5 separate regions of the Homo sapiens genome follow, and all the other regions are linked to region 1. Evidence: promoter capture Hi-C in 16 types of primary human blood cells and fetal thymus (Javierre and others, 2016). All regions are on one chromosome and are shown on one strand. The core of a region is centred on a gene start or on the middle of the fragment in contact, and the rest is flanking DNA. Distances in the headings are between cores, read along the strand shown. Region 1 holds the start of KRABD5 (KRAB domain containing 5). Region 2 has its middle 12 kb from the start of ITGAM. Region 3 overlaps ITGAM (integrin subunit alpha M). Region 4 holds the start of ITGAX (integrin subunit alpha X). Region 5 has its middle 5.5 kb from the start of ZNF843.

Region 1 (2,773 bases), core at 191-2,690:
CGTCCAGCTGTGACCTCTACCTGGGGCTTTACAGAGAGTTGTTTATGGGTAACAGACACCTTGTTTCAGAGGGAATGGGCATGAGCTGGCAAGTGAAGCACCCCCACAGCTTATCAGGAACTTTTTCTCATTTTTAAACCATCATGTCTTCATTTCACATTGGAATAAAGTGAGGTTTTGGAACCTGCTGCCCCAGTCTCTGGATTGTGAGGGCTGTTGTCAAACAGGTTACTAGGAGAGGAATATGTATAAATTAGCTCAAATTCAAGGTTATGCTTGTAATGTCACCTGAGTGGGAAGTAAGAGGGTGGAGTCACAGGCACTCAGCTGGGATTTACCTGGCCTCGTCACTAGACTAATGGGATTGTGGCACAGGTGAACATCCCGTCATTGGAGAAGAAAGGCTGGATTGAAGGCCAGGTGGGGGAGGGGTGCTAGGCTGTGGGGTCAGGCCCTGGGCATGCTGGACCTGTTAGGTCACTGAACATCTGACTGGGCACCTGCCCAGATTTGTCCCTTCAGTTGAGGTGGGATTGGCAGCACTCCCCAGAAGGCGTGCAGTGCCGGGAGAGTGGAGGAGGGTCTGACGTTTGCTATCCTGTGGTAGGTTTTAGAGCTAACTAGATGCTTGTGGAGAGCTAATGACATGGGAAGAAGGCAGCCCACCTTGATGGACCGGAGGGTTAGAGCCTGCGATGTGAGAAGCGGGTGTGTGGAGGTGGCCTGTCTACAAGAGGGCAAGTTTAAGGCCCATTGCAGTGGCACTATCTCAGCTCACTGCAGCTGGTGGCTGCCAGGCCATCCCTCTCCAGAGCAGGGAGGCCCTCAGCCTTATGTATAATTGAATGCCTTTTGGGATGCTTGGATAGTCCTTTATGTCTTGGAAATTCAGAAAAGAAAAAAAAAATTACAATCCTCCTGTCTGTTAGTTTCCCTGAGCCAACTGGATAAAAGATGTCCCTGACCCCAAGATTTTAAGTGACACCCAAGGGAAGCCACCGTTACCTTGGCTGTTGAAGCCTCCTGCATGCTCCCCAAAAACCCCAGCAGTTTCCTCTGCAGTCCCACAGTTATGTCCTGAGCAGTGGGGTACCGTGTGATGAGAGGTGCTAAGGATGGGATGAGGGTCTTTCCTGTGTTATTAGAACGGTTAAAAAGTTGTTTTAAAGGTGCCCAAATGCCCTCCTTCTTAAACTTAATTAGCTAATAAGATGCCTTATACAAGCAAAACCAGGTACGGGAAAGCAAGTGCATTTCAAGTCCAAGCTCACCCCTTAAATTAGCTGTAATACCCTCAGCAGGTGGCCCCACCTCAATGAGCCTGTCTCCCATTCAAAAAGCAGAACGAGTGAGAGGGCGGGGCCTGGAGCTTTACCCAATCAGTGGCGTCGGAGTGGAAATCCTCCAATCGGGAGTAGCCGGAGAGCAGGGGCGGCTTCCGGGATTTGGCGGTGGCCTTTGTTGGCTGCAGTAAGAGCTCAGTCTCTTCACCAGGGGCTCCCAGTCCTTCCATCTGGGAGGCCAAGGCGGCTTCGCGTTCTGAGAATAGACAGAACCTCTGTTACTCTGTGACCGGCAGGCACCGGGAGATCCGTAGCTCAGACGCCAGGACATCCCGGAAGCTGGGAAATGGTGAATGTGCCAGGTCGGGGGTCCCCAGAAGAGGGAGAGGGGCGGTCGGAAGCGGCGGGAACCCTCTTTGAGGTTAGCTTCGGGGTCTGGGCCCTGAGTCCCCGCGGACGCAACTCGGCCCTTGGTCCCCTCCGCCGCAAGATGGCGGCCGGGCCGGCAGCCGGGACCCCGCGCGTCCGGTCCCCTCCCGACCCCGCAGAGCGACCTCTGCCATGGCCGGAGCCGTCTTTGGGTCGCCGCAGCCCGGCGTCTCCCGAGATTGTGCGGTGAGAACGTGAGGGTCTTAGGGGAAATCCCGGGTCGGCGTGTGATTCGTGTGTGGGAAGATACTGTGCCCCGTGGTGTCCCAGTCTCCTTTTTCCTCTTACAAATTAAGGGGAGTCACCCTTAAAGCGTTAAAGGGTTGATTTAGGTAAACAGCGATTGGTGAAATGGGAAGCCTGCCGCCGTGGTTTGTGGTTTAGGGTCCTCTGGAGCAGCGATTTCAAAATCCCAGGGCTCAGCTTAGGAATGCTGCTGGGGAAAAGAAATAGGGACAATCTCTCTTCCACTTTGGCTGTAGAAAACGAATACATTTCCACAGAAAGTGTGCTAGATTAATTGGTCAATTACAAACATTCATTAAAATATCAGGTCCTCTCTTTTGCAGTGGAGGATTTGTGACAGTGGATATCTGTGTTCCATATTCTACTGCTATCTGGATGTCCGACTTTAATGCCAAATGTTATGAGACAGGACTTGGCACCTCCTAGAAGTGTTCACATATACTAAATGATCTGCTATTATGGAAATAATTAAATGACATGTTTCTTGCTCGAAAGAGGTATTTTGGCCTTACCTGTTGAAGTATAAAGTGTAAGTGCCTTACAGTTTCCTTCCTTTCTATAAAAACTGTTTTGAGTGATTTTGCTATTTTCCTGAAACCTGTTAGGTCACTGAACATCTGACTGGCTGGGCACCTGCTCCTGTCCCTTCAGTTGAGGTAGGATTGGCAGCACTCCCCAGAAGGCGTGCAGTGCCAGGAGAGTGGAGGAAGGTCTGACGTTTGCTATCCTGGGGTAGGTTTTAGAGCTCGCTAGATGCTTGTGGAGAGCTGATGAGATGGGAAGAAGGCACCCCACCTCGATGGACCTGAAAGAGA
Region 2 (2,773 bases), core at 88-2,587, 470 kb before region 1:
ATCTTCACAATTTATGTTCAGAGATTGCAGTAAAGACAGGCATAAGAAATTATGAAAGTATTAATTTGGGAAACTAATAAATGTCCATGAAATCTTCACAATTTATGTTCTTCTGCCATGGCTTCAGCTGGTCCCTCCATTAGGGGTTCCGGGCTTCCCACAACAGAAGAGGTCTTGCTATATTATCGGTCTTGAACTCCTAGCTTCAAGTGATCCTCCCACCTCAGCCCCGCAAAGTCCCAGTGTGAGCCACTGCACCCAGCCTGGTTACATAACTTCCATGTGCCTCAGTTTCTTCATCTGCAAAATGGGGCTAGAATACCTTCTTCATAGGATTTCTATGAAGGGTCAGTGAGTGAACACATGCTAATCACTTAGAACCATGTCTGGCACAGAGTAAATTCTCAATCAGTGTCAGTTTTTATTATGTATTATTATTATTATTGTAAAATACAGTATGTCATTATAGTATGTATTGACTATTTGTTCTACATTTTCAATTTTCAAGAATTAGGCACTTTTAGTTATATTTTCAGTATTTTCTGTTTTTACCTTAATCTATCATTTCTGATTTTACCTTAATCAGGGATGTGGTATGTATCATTTCTGCCTTTCTGTGGCATGAAATTGGAATGGTATTTGTGAAATGAGTTTTAGTGCTTAAAAAGCTTTATTTATTTATTTTTTTGAGACAGAGTGTTGCTCTGTCGCCCAGGCTGGAGTGCAGTGGTGCGATCTCGGCTCACAGAAACCTCTGCCTCCCAGGCTCAAGCGATTCTAATGCCTCAGCCTCCCAAGTAGCTGGGATTACTTAAAGGCATGTGCTACTATGCCTGGCTAATTTTTGTATTTTTAGTGGAGATGGGGTTTTGCCATGTTGGCCAGGCTGGTCTCAAACTCCTGGCCTCAAGTGATCCATCCTCCCTGGCCTCCCAAAGTGCTGGGATTACAGGCGTGAGCCACCACACACCCACACACAGCCTATTCATCTTTTTTTTTAAAGACAGGATCTTGCTCTGTTGCCCAGGCTGGAGTGCAGGAGTGCAGTACATCATAGCTCACTGCAGCCTTGAACTCCTAAGCTCAAGCCATCCTCCTGCCCTTGACCCTCCAAGTAGCTGGCACTACAGGCATGACATACATCTATTAATGCTACCTTATTAGCTGTGTCGTTCACATCAACCAGTTAATTTGCATGTCTATAACTACATCTGAATTTGTGCGCGCTCTCTCTCTTTTTTTTTTTTTTTTTTTACGGAGTCTTGCTTTGTCCCCCAGGCTGGAGTGCAGTGACATGATCTCAGCTCACTGCAACCTCCGCCTTCTGGGTTCAAGTGATTCTCCTGCCTCAGCCTCCCGAGTAGCTGGGACTACAGGTGCTCGCCACCATGCCCGGCTAATTTTTGTATTTTTTAGTAGAGATGGGGTTTCACCATGTTGGCCAGGATGGTCTTGATCTCTTGATCTTGTGATCCGCCCGCCTTGGCGTCCCAAAGTGCTGGGATTACAGGCGTGAGCCACCGCACCCCGCCAGCATTCTTTGTCTTGTCCACAGCTGAAGTTTCCATTATTTATTTATTCAACCAAACTTCATCAAACTCCTTTTTAATGTAGCACATACCATGCTCAGTCTTAGGCGTATGCATTTGGATAATTCAAAATTGTTGCCTTCAAAAAGCTATAGTGAGAGAAATAACCTCATAAACAATAAGATCACAGTGTGAGGACTGCTAATAGAGCTGTGTGTAACAGAGCTTGGGGTTAAGCAGGAAAATTAGGGCAGGCTTCTCAGAAGAGGTGACAACTTGAGTTGGCCCTTGGAGAGCAAGTAGGAGTTTCTAAGGAAAACAAAAAGAAGCAGAAGGATGGTATTCCAGACACACCCAATAGTCAATTGTACTATTAGTTTGATGCAAACGTAATTGCGGTTTTGGCCATGACTTTAATTACTTTAGTTACATTTGCACCCACCTAATAATTATCTGAAACTGCATGACAAATGACCCTAAGCTTAGAGGCTTAAAACAACAGTAATCATTTCTTATCTCCCTTGATTTCTTTTCTTAAATTTAAAAAAATTTTTGGCCGGGTGCAGTGGCTCACATCTGTAATCCCAGCACCACAGTAGCAAAAATAGCTGCAGTGGTTCCAGGTTTTACATCACACTAGGAGGAGAAAAAACATCTTTGTCCTGAGATCCACTTTGATTAGACACATGCCCACACTTGAACCAACGACTTATGTCAGAGCGATAGAATAGTTGGATTGTCTTAGTGTAGTTCACATGCTCCACCCTCAGACCTGGGGCAAAGTCAGTTCTTCCCAAACCACGTAGTCCTCCAAGTGGAAATTGAGAGTCGCTGGGAAGGGGGAAACTGGATGCTGGGGAGATAACCACAAGTGTCCACACAAACTCAATTGTGATGTGGTTCATCTAAGCAACACTCAGTGAGCCCCAGCCAGATAAGGTGCTGGGTCCTGGGATAAAGCCATGAGCAGGACATAGTCACTGCTCTCAAGGCAGCCATTGTTTATCACCCCCCAAGAACGTAAGCTCCTTAAAGGTAGGGAGGTTTCCTCTCTCGTTCACATCCATTTCCCTGAGCCTGGAGCAGCACCTGGCACATAGTTAATACCTGTTGAATGAAGAGTCTAGTGGAAAGATGGGCATAATCTCCAAGTCATCACACCATATACAGTTTAATGCTAGCTCTAGGGACTTTGAGGGGCCAGGGTGTGTGATCCACCCTTTTACTTCTCCTCCTTTTTCTCT
Region 3 (2,773 bases), core at 159-2,658, 380 kb before region 1:
AGTCGTCTCCCCTGACGCCCCTCCTTCCTCCCCCAGACGGAGACCAAAGTGGAGCCGTTCGAGGTCCCCAACCCCCTGCCGCTCATCGTGGGCAGCTCTGTCGGGGGACTGCTGCTCCTGGCCCTCATCACCGCCGCGCTGTACAAGGTGCTCCCCGCTGCTCCCCCACCCCCTCCCTTCATCCTCTCGGGCCTCGCGCTGCAGCTCCGTGCCTCGGTTTCCCCGGCGGGGCTGCCAGCTGTGTGACTGGGGCGAGTCTGGGAGCCTCTCTGCGCCTCAGTCTCTTAGGGAGGGTGGCCGGGTTCATGCGCGGGGCGCGCTGAGAACGAGTCGCCCTCCTTGTAGTTTCTGTTTTTCTCCAGGCCCCGACGCGGATGTCACTCCCCTCCCGCCCCGCCCTCCTGGGTCCCTTCTGTCTCTGCCGGCCCTCCCGCCCCCTCCCCCTGGTCTGCGGAGCCGCACGCTCCCTGGCTGCTGTCGCTCTCACTGCCCTCCTCTGCCCCGCAGCTCGGCTTCTTCAAGCGGCAATACAAGGACATGATGAGTGAAGGGGGTCCCCCGGGGGCCGAACCCCAGTAGCGGCTCCTTCCCGACAGAGCTGCCTCTCGGTGGCCAGCAGGACTCTGCCCAGACCACACGTAGCCCCCAGGCTGCTGGACACGTCGGACAGCGAAGTATCCCCGACAGGACGGGCTTGGGCTTCCATTTGTGTGTGTGCAAGTGTGTATGTGCGTGTGTGCAAGTGTCTGTGTGCAAGTGTGTGCACATGTGTGCGTGTGCGTGCATGTGCACTTGCACGCCCATGTGTGAGTGTGTGCAAGTATGTGAGTGTGTCCAAGTGTGTGTGCGTGTGTCCATGTGTGTGCAAGTGTGTGCATGTGTGCGAGTGTGTGCATGTGTGTGCTCAGGGGCGTGTGGCTCACGTGTGTGACTCAGATGTCTCTGGCGTGTGGGTAGGTGACGGCAGCGTAGCCTCTCCGGCAGAAGGGAACTGCCTGGGCTCCCTTGTGCGTGGGTGAAGCCGCTGCTGGGTTTTCCTCCGGGAGAGGGGACGGTCAATCCTGTGGGTGAAGACAGAGGGAAACACAGCAGCTTCTCTCCACTGAAAGAAGTGGGACTTCCCGTCGCCTGCGAGCCTGCGGCCTGCTGGAGCCTGCGCAGCTTGGATGGAGACTCCATGAGAAGCCGTGGGTGGAACCAGGAACCTCCTCCACACCAGCGCTGATGCCCAATAAAGATGCCCACTGAGGAATGATGAAGCTTCCTTTCTGGATTCATTTATTATTTCAATGTGACTTTAATTTTTTGGATGGATAAGCTTGTCTATGGTACAAAAATCACAAGGCATTCAAGTGTACAGTGAAAAGTCTCCCTTTCCAGATATTCAAGTCACCTCCTTAAAGGTAGTCAAGATTGTGTTTTGAGGTTTCCTTCAGACAGATTCCAGGCGATGTGCAAGTGTATGCACGTGTGCACACACACCACACATACACACACACAAGCTTTTTTACACAAATGGTAGCATACTTTATATTGGTCTGTATCTTGCTTTTTTTCACCAATATTTCTCAGACATCGGTTCATATTAAGACATAAATTACTTTTTCATTCTTTTATACCGCTGCATAGTATTCCATTGTGTGAGTGTACCATAATGTATTTAACCAGTCTTCTTTTGATATACTATTTTCATTCTCTTGTTATTGCATCAATGCTGAGTTAATAAATCAAATATATGTCATTTTTGCATATATGTAAGGATAATTTATAGGATATGTTCCTGGAAGTTTGGGTTCTCCCAGAAGCAAACCCAAGAATTTGGGTGAAACAAGCGTATTTAAGAGGTGGCAGGCCAGGCATGGTGGCTCACACCTGAAATCCCAGCATTTTGGGAGGTGAAGGTGTGAAGATTGCTTGAGCTCAGGAGTTCGAGACTAGCCTGGGCAACATAGTGAGAACCTGTGTCCACGAAAAATTAAAAAAATTTAGCCAGGCCTGGTGTTACATGCCTGTAGTCACAGCTACTCCGGAGGCTGATGCAGGAGGATTACTTGAGCCCAGAAGGTCTAGACTGCAGTGAGCCATGATCGCACCACTGCACTCCAGCCTGGGTGACAGAGTGAGATCCTGTCTCAAAAATAAACAAAATAATAAAATAAAGGTCGGGCACAGTGGCTCACGCCTCTGTAATCCCAGAACTTTGGGAGGCCGAGGCTGGTGGATCACCTGATCTCAGGAGTTTGAGACCAGCCTGTCGAACTTGGTGAAACCCCGTCTCTACTAAAAATACAAAAAAATTAGCCATGCATGGTGGCAGGCAACTGTAATCTCAGCTACTTGGGAGGCTGAGGAAGGAGAATTGCTTTAACCTGGGAGGTAGAGGTTGCAGTGAGATATGATTGCATCACTGCACTCCAGCCTGGGCGACAGAGCAGGACTCCATCTTAAAAAAAAAAAAATAAATAAAATAAAATAAAATAAAGAGATGGCTCCAGGAAATACCGAGGAAGGGAAGGCTGCCAATAACAGGTGTATCACCCACAGAGAAGCTGCTGTGAGTTCCTGGAGCTTCACCCCACTGGGCAGTTCTCGGAGGCAGTGCAGAACACGCACCTCAGTATCACCCCACCCAGGGGAGAAGGCTGGAGCGCATAGACACCGATTCCACTTAGCTATTGGATGAGGGCTGCTCTTGGTGGGGAGAGTGTGTTAATTTCCTACCACTTCTGGCCTGCCCTGAGTGTGAGGAGAGTGGGCTCTAGTGGCCAGAGAA
Region 4 (2,773 bases), core at 18-2,517, 360 kb before region 1:
CCCCATATAACCCACTTTCTAAAATGAAAATGTGAAGATCTCAGTCCCCATGAATTCCCTTCAATGCTGTCCTCCACTCTCAGGACAAAATCAATGTGTCTTCACCAGGTGTGGTGGCTCACACCTGTGATCCCAGCAATTTAGGAGGCTGAGGCAGGAGGATTGATTGAGATCAGGAGTTTGAGACCAGCCTGGCCAACATGGGGAAACTCTGTCTCTACTAAAATTAAAAAATATATATATATAAATATATATATATATTCAGGTGCAGTGGTGCAATCCTATAGTCCTGGCTACTCAGGAGGCTGAGGCAGGAGGATCCCTTGGGCCCAGGAGTTCGAAGCAGCAGTGAACTATGCACCCACTGCACTCCAGCCTGGGTGGCAGAGCAAGACCCTGTTTCTGAAATTAAAAAAAAAAATTGATGTACATTAGGGGGGCTTCCACGGCCTGAGGCCTGCTTCCCCTTGCTTTCCTCCCAGTGGCCCTGACCTTGTCTCTTACAACTTCCCACCCTGACTGTCTGGTTCCCATTGCTGATTTCACACACAGACCCTCCTGTCCCCTGCCTCATCCATGTCTGGCTGCTCTGTCATCTCCCAACTTTGGTTGCTTTCAATGCTCAGCTCAAGCACCACCTCTTTCAGGAAGCCTTCTCAGAAAGCCACACCTTCACAACCCGGGTGAGGCACCCTGTGGTCTCTGTGCTTCCCCCTCACAGCAATGAACTTGCTGTTTATACATCTGCCTCTCCACTGACCCCAGGGCTGGTGCTTTGTGGTTTATATTTTCTTCCCCACCTAGCAGAGGGCTTGCATCTCCAGGCTCAAATTAGGCTTCTTGAATAAATGATGAATAAATGAGTGAATGAATGAATGAACAAATACTCGCTCTGTGCTCCTCCTAGGGACCCGGATGCCCCACTCCTTGGCCCAGACTTTCCAGGTCAGAGTGGAGGGCTCCCACCAGGGTTTCCTTTAGGGTCCTGAGGGGTTGGCATCTGCCCAAACCCCCTCCAGTCTGGCTGAAATTTCAAGGTCAAGGGGTGCCTTCTGGCAGTCAAGGGTGAGCCTGGGAGGGGCAGGGCAGGGATTTGCATCCATCTAAGCAAAGGGCATCAAGCCAAGTCATCTGATGAGAGTGACTCCGGTTGGGGGGTGGGGGCGTGTGGGAGGCCGAGCCTGTCCTCGGATCAGTTGCGTACTCTGCCCGCCCCCTCTGACTCATGCTGACAATCTTCTTCCTTCCCCTGGCCACCTCTCTGCCCACTTGCTTCCTCAGTACCTTGGTCCAGCTCTTCCTGCAACGGCCCAGGAGCTCAGAGCTCCACATCTGACCTTCTAGTCATGACCAGGACCAGGGCAGCACTCCTCCTGTTCACAGGTGAGCCTGGACCCCAATGAAGTAGGGCTGGGGACCCAGGCCCAAGGGAGCCAGGGCCCTGAACTGGGGGCTCAGGCTGGGGGGTTAGGATCTGGGTAGGAAGAGAGACTCAGTCAAGCCTGAGGGGGAGGCAGGCACATAGGGTCTGAGATTTGGAGTTTGTGGAGGGAGAGGATATTGATGAACCAATTTTGGGAGAGTTCCAGAGATGCTGGAAGAGAGGCCAGTTGTCTCTGTACTGCAGAGATTTTTAAAATAGGCAGAATGCGCCAACTTGTGCTCTGTGGACAGGATGCTTTGGTCCGCAAGTTTTCCTGGACTCACTCTCATAGCGCCCGAGGTGCACGTTGGGGAAAGATCCTTTTTAGAGCCTGGGTACTGCTCTGCAGAAATGGAGAACTGCAACTCGATAGTGGATGGTGGGCAAGGGGCATCCCTGGACCCTGGGAAGGAGAGAAGGGGATGAGTTGGGTGTCCAGAAGACCCAGGCACCCCGGGCATCAGGCTCGGAGGGGAGATTGGGACGCTGGGGCCGGGGGTGGAGGGCAGCCAGGCAGAAGGAAGACCCTTCTCCAAAGCTCTCTTCCCACCTCTTTCCCAGCCTTAGCAACTTCTCTAGGTTTCAACTTGGACACAGAGGAGCTGACAGCCTTCCGTGTGGACAGCGCTGGGTTTGGAGACAGCGTGGTCCAGTATGCCAACTCCTGGTGAGGCCCAGGTGGTGCTGGCCTTTGGCTCCATCCATCCTCTCCCTGCTCAGGGCCCCATGCCCCCGGCCCTGCCCTGTTATTTGCAAACTCTCCTCTCTGTCTGGTGTAGCGACTGCCCTGGCTAATGAAGATTTGCCTTGAAGGCAGGCACGGTCTCACAGCTAACATTTACAGAGCAGTAAGTGCAGTGCCAGGCTCATCACAGGTGGATGCTGATTTAGTCCACACGACAGCCTGTGAGTAGGAATCAGTCGTGCAACAAACACTTATTTGTTTTTTCTTTCTTTTTTTCTATACATTTAAAAATATATAGAGACAGGGTCTCACTATGTTGCCTGGGTTGGTCTCAAACTCCTGGGCTCAAGCAATCCTCCCGCCTCAGCCTCCCAAAGTGCTGGGATTCCAGGTGTGAGCCACCACACCCAGACTCAACAAATATTTCTTGTCTCCATACGCCAGAGAATCCAACAGACAGAAATCCCTTCCACATGGACTTTAAATTATTAAAATCCATCTTGCAGATGAGGAAGCTGAGGCTCAGGGAGGGAACGCAAACTTGCCGGAGTGGCAGCTGTGCTGCAGCGTCCACACTCTTACCTAAAGTGTTCTTTGTCTCCTCGCAGGGTGGTGGTTGGAGCCCCCCAAAAGATAACAGCTGCCAACCAAACGGGTGGCCTCTA
Region 5 (2,773 bases), core at 185-2,684, 260 kb before region 1:
AAAAAAATATATGTATATATACAAGGTAGATATTGAATATCTGCATGCAAAAGAATGAATTTGGATCCCTATATCACAATACATATAAAAGTTAACTCAAATTGAATCATAGAACTAAAAGTTAGGACTCTTAGAATCTTTATAACTTTGAATTAAGCAATGCTTTCTTAGATATGACACCAAAAGCACAAGCAACAAAAGAAAAAAATACAGAAACTGAACACCATCAAAATTGAAACCTCTTGCGCTTCATATGACATTATTCTTTAATTTTTTTCTTTTTCTTTCCAAATACCCAGACGTCAGGGAGATTCACAGGACATTATTAAGAAAAAGAGAAGATAAAAAAGAAAAGGAGAAGATAACCCACAGAGCAGGTAAAAATCTTTGCTAATCATATATCTGGGAAGGGATTTGTACCTAGACTGTATAAAGAACTATTGCAACTCAATGATAAAAAAGACAAATAATCCAATTTAAAAATGGAATTAGGCTGGGCACGGTGGCTCACGCCTGTAATCCCAGCACTTTGGGAGGCTGAGGTGGGCGGATCACCTGAGGTCAGGAGTTTGAGAACAGTCTGGACAACATGGTGAAACCCTGTCTCTACTAAAAGTACAAAAATTAGCCAGGCATGGTGGCATGTGCCTGTAATCCCAGCTACTCGGGAGGCTGAGACAGGAGAATCACTTGAACCCGGGAGGCAGAGGTCACAGTGAGAAGAGATCACGCCACTGCACTCCAGCCTAGGCGAGAGAGCAAGACTCAGTCTCAAAAAACAAAAAAAGGAAAGAAAGAAAGAAATCAGTCGAGTGTGGTGGCCTGCACCTCTAGTCCCAGCTACTCGGAAGGCTGAGAATCACTTGAACCATGGAGGTGGAGGCTGCAGTAAGCCGAAATTGTGCCACTGCACTCCTGGGCAACAGAGGAGTCCTTGTCTCAAGAAAAAGAAAGAAAAAGAAAAAAAATTAAATGGGCAAATGACTTGAATAGACAGTTCAAAGAAGTTATATAAATGGCCAATAATTACATGAAAAGATCCTCAACATCATTAGTCCTCAGAAAAATGCAAATCAAAACTACAACGAGGTGCCACATCATACATATTAGGATGGTGATAATAAAAAAGACAGGTAATTACGCCAGTAGTGGCGGCTCATGCCTGTAATCCCATCACTTTGAGAGGCTGAGGTGGGCGAATCACCTGGGCTCAGGAGTTCGAGACCAGCCTGGTGAACATGGTGAAACCTAGTCTGTACTAAAAACACACAAAAAATTAGCCAGGCATGGTGGCGGGTGCCTGTAGTCCCAGCTACTCAGGAGGCTGAGGCAGGAGAATCACTTGAACCTGGCAGGTGAAGGCTGAAGTGAGCTGAGATCACGCCACTGCACTCCAGCCTGGGAAACAGATGGAGACTCTATCTCAAATAATAATAACATTATTATTATTTTTAAAAATAATATTTAAAAAACATTAAAATTTTTTTTTTAAATAATATTTTTAAAAATGATATTTTTTAAATGATAATATTTACAGGCAGTGGCTCACACTTGTAATCCCAGCACTTTGGGAGGCCGAGGTGGGCGGATCACCTGAGCTCAGGAGTTTGAGACCAGCCTGGCCAACTTGGTGAAACCCTGTCTCTACTAAAAATACAAACATTTGCTGGGCGTGGTGACAGGCGCCTATAATCCCAGTCACTTGGGAGGCTGAGGCAGGAGAATCACTTGAACCTGGGAGGCGTAGGTTGCAGTGAGCTGAGATCACGCCACTGCACTCCAGCCTGGTGACAGAGTGAGATTCCGACTCAAAAAAAAAAAAGCTGAAAAGACAGTTAATTAACAAGTTTTTGTGAGAATGTGGAGAGATTGGAACCCTCACACATGGCTGGTTGGAACGTAAAATCATTCATTAACTTTGGAAAATGGTCTGGCAGTTCCTCAGATGTTTAAACATAGAGTTATATGATCCAGCAATTTCCCTTCTAGATATGTAACCAAAAGAAATAAAAGCATATTCCACAAAAACCTTGTACGTGAGTATTCATAGCAGCATTATTCATAATAGCCCGAGTGGAAACAACCCAAATGTCTGTCAACTGATGATTGAAGAAAGTGGCATATCCATGTCTTAGTCTGTTTTGTGCTGCATCGTAGAATGCCTAAGGCTGGATAATTTATAAAGAATAGAAATATCTTTCTTTCAGTTCTAGAGGTTGGGAAGTCGAAGGTCAAGGGCCCTGCATCTGGTGAGGGCCTTCTTTCTGCCTCATCCCACAGCAGAAAGCGGAAGGGCAAGACAGTGCAAGAGAGGGGGTGGGTGGGGGCAGAACCCATCCATTTATCTATCAGCTGTCCACTCCCTTGATAACTAACCTACTCATGCAATAATGCCATTAATCCATTCATGAGGGAAGAGCTCACATAACCTAATCACTTCTTAAAGTTCCCACCTCTCAACAGTTGAATTGGAGGTTAAGTTTCCAACACATGAACTTTAGGGGACAGGTTCAAACCACAGCAATCCATAAAGTGAAACTGTATTATTCCTAATAAAAAGAAATGAGATACTACAGTGTGGATGAACCTTGATAACATTATGCTATATGAAAGAAGCCAGACACGAATGACCACACATTGTATGATTCCATTTATATGACATGTCCAGAATAGGTCATCTGTAGAGATAAGATGTAGATTAGTGGTTGCCTAGGGTTGGGGTATAGGGGGTGTTATGGACTGAATGTTTGTATCGCCCCCAAATTTATACATT

What was found. Contacts are between HindIII fragments. The CHiCAGO score rates a contact against its expected background, and 5 or more counts as called.
Region 2: a contact is called between a fragment that was not itself captured here and the fragment with the promoter of KRABD5 in region 1, in 1 of 17 cell types (erythroblasts). The highest score is 6.0, in erythroblasts.
Region 3: a fragment that was not itself captured here is called in contact with the fragment with the promoter of KRABD5 in region 1 in 1 of 17 cell types (erythroblasts); the score reaches 6.9 in erythroblasts.
Region 4: the fragment with the promoter of ITGAX here is called in contact with the fragment with the promoter of KRABD5 in region 1 in 1 of 17 cell types (erythroblasts); the score reaches 6.5 in erythroblasts.
Region 5: a fragment that was not itself captured here is called in contact with the fragment with the promoter of KRABD5 in region 1 in 3 of 17 cell types (erythroblasts, non-activated CD4 T cells and megakaryocytes); the score reaches 5.9 in erythroblasts.

What each region holds. Positions count from the first base shown.
Region 1 is chr16:31,711,804-31,714,576 of GRCh38, forward strand. KRABD5 (KRAB domain containing 5) reads left to right here and starts at 1,441. Exons shown (of 5, transcript NM_001130913.2): 1 at 1,441-1,632. The coding sequence starts at 1,630. RefSeq lists an enhancer at 1,608-1,727 and a silencer at 1,818-1,877. The HindIII fragment of the contact is 15,701 bases long and covers 1-2,773 here.
Region 2 is chr16:31,246,278-31,249,050 of GRCh38, forward strand. No RefSeq gene overlaps it. Among named protein-coding and RNA genes, the nearest start is that of ITGAM, 12 kb to the right of the region's middle. RefSeq lists an enhancer at 1-119. The HindIII fragment of the contact is 1,342 bases long and covers 667-2,008 here.
Region 3 is chr16:31,331,129-31,333,901 of GRCh38, forward strand. ITGAM (integrin subunit alpha M) reads left to right here. Exons shown (of 30, transcript NM_000632.4): 29 at 37-147; 30 at 508-1,749. The coding sequence ends at 579. Among named protein-coding and RNA genes, the nearest start is that of ITGAX, 23 kb to the right of the region's middle. RefSeq lists a silencer at 350-429. The HindIII fragment of the contact is 184 bases long and covers 1,317-1,500 here.
Region 4 is chr16:31,353,909-31,356,681 of GRCh38, forward strand. It overlaps ITGAX (integrin subunit alpha X), which reads left to right and starts at 1,268. Exons shown (of 30, transcript NM_000887.5): 1 at 1,268-1,383; 2 at 1,985-2,090; 3 at 2,717-2,773. The coding sequence starts at 1,347. RefSeq lists enhancers at 530-659, 850-1,039. The HindIII fragment of the contact is 18,983 bases long and covers 1-2,773 here.
Region 5 is chr16:31,446,898-31,449,670 of GRCh38, forward strand. No RefSeq gene overlaps it. Among named protein-coding and RNA genes, the nearest start is that of ZNF843, 5.5 kb to the left of the region's middle. The HindIII fragment of the contact is 6,267 bases long and covers 1-2,773 here.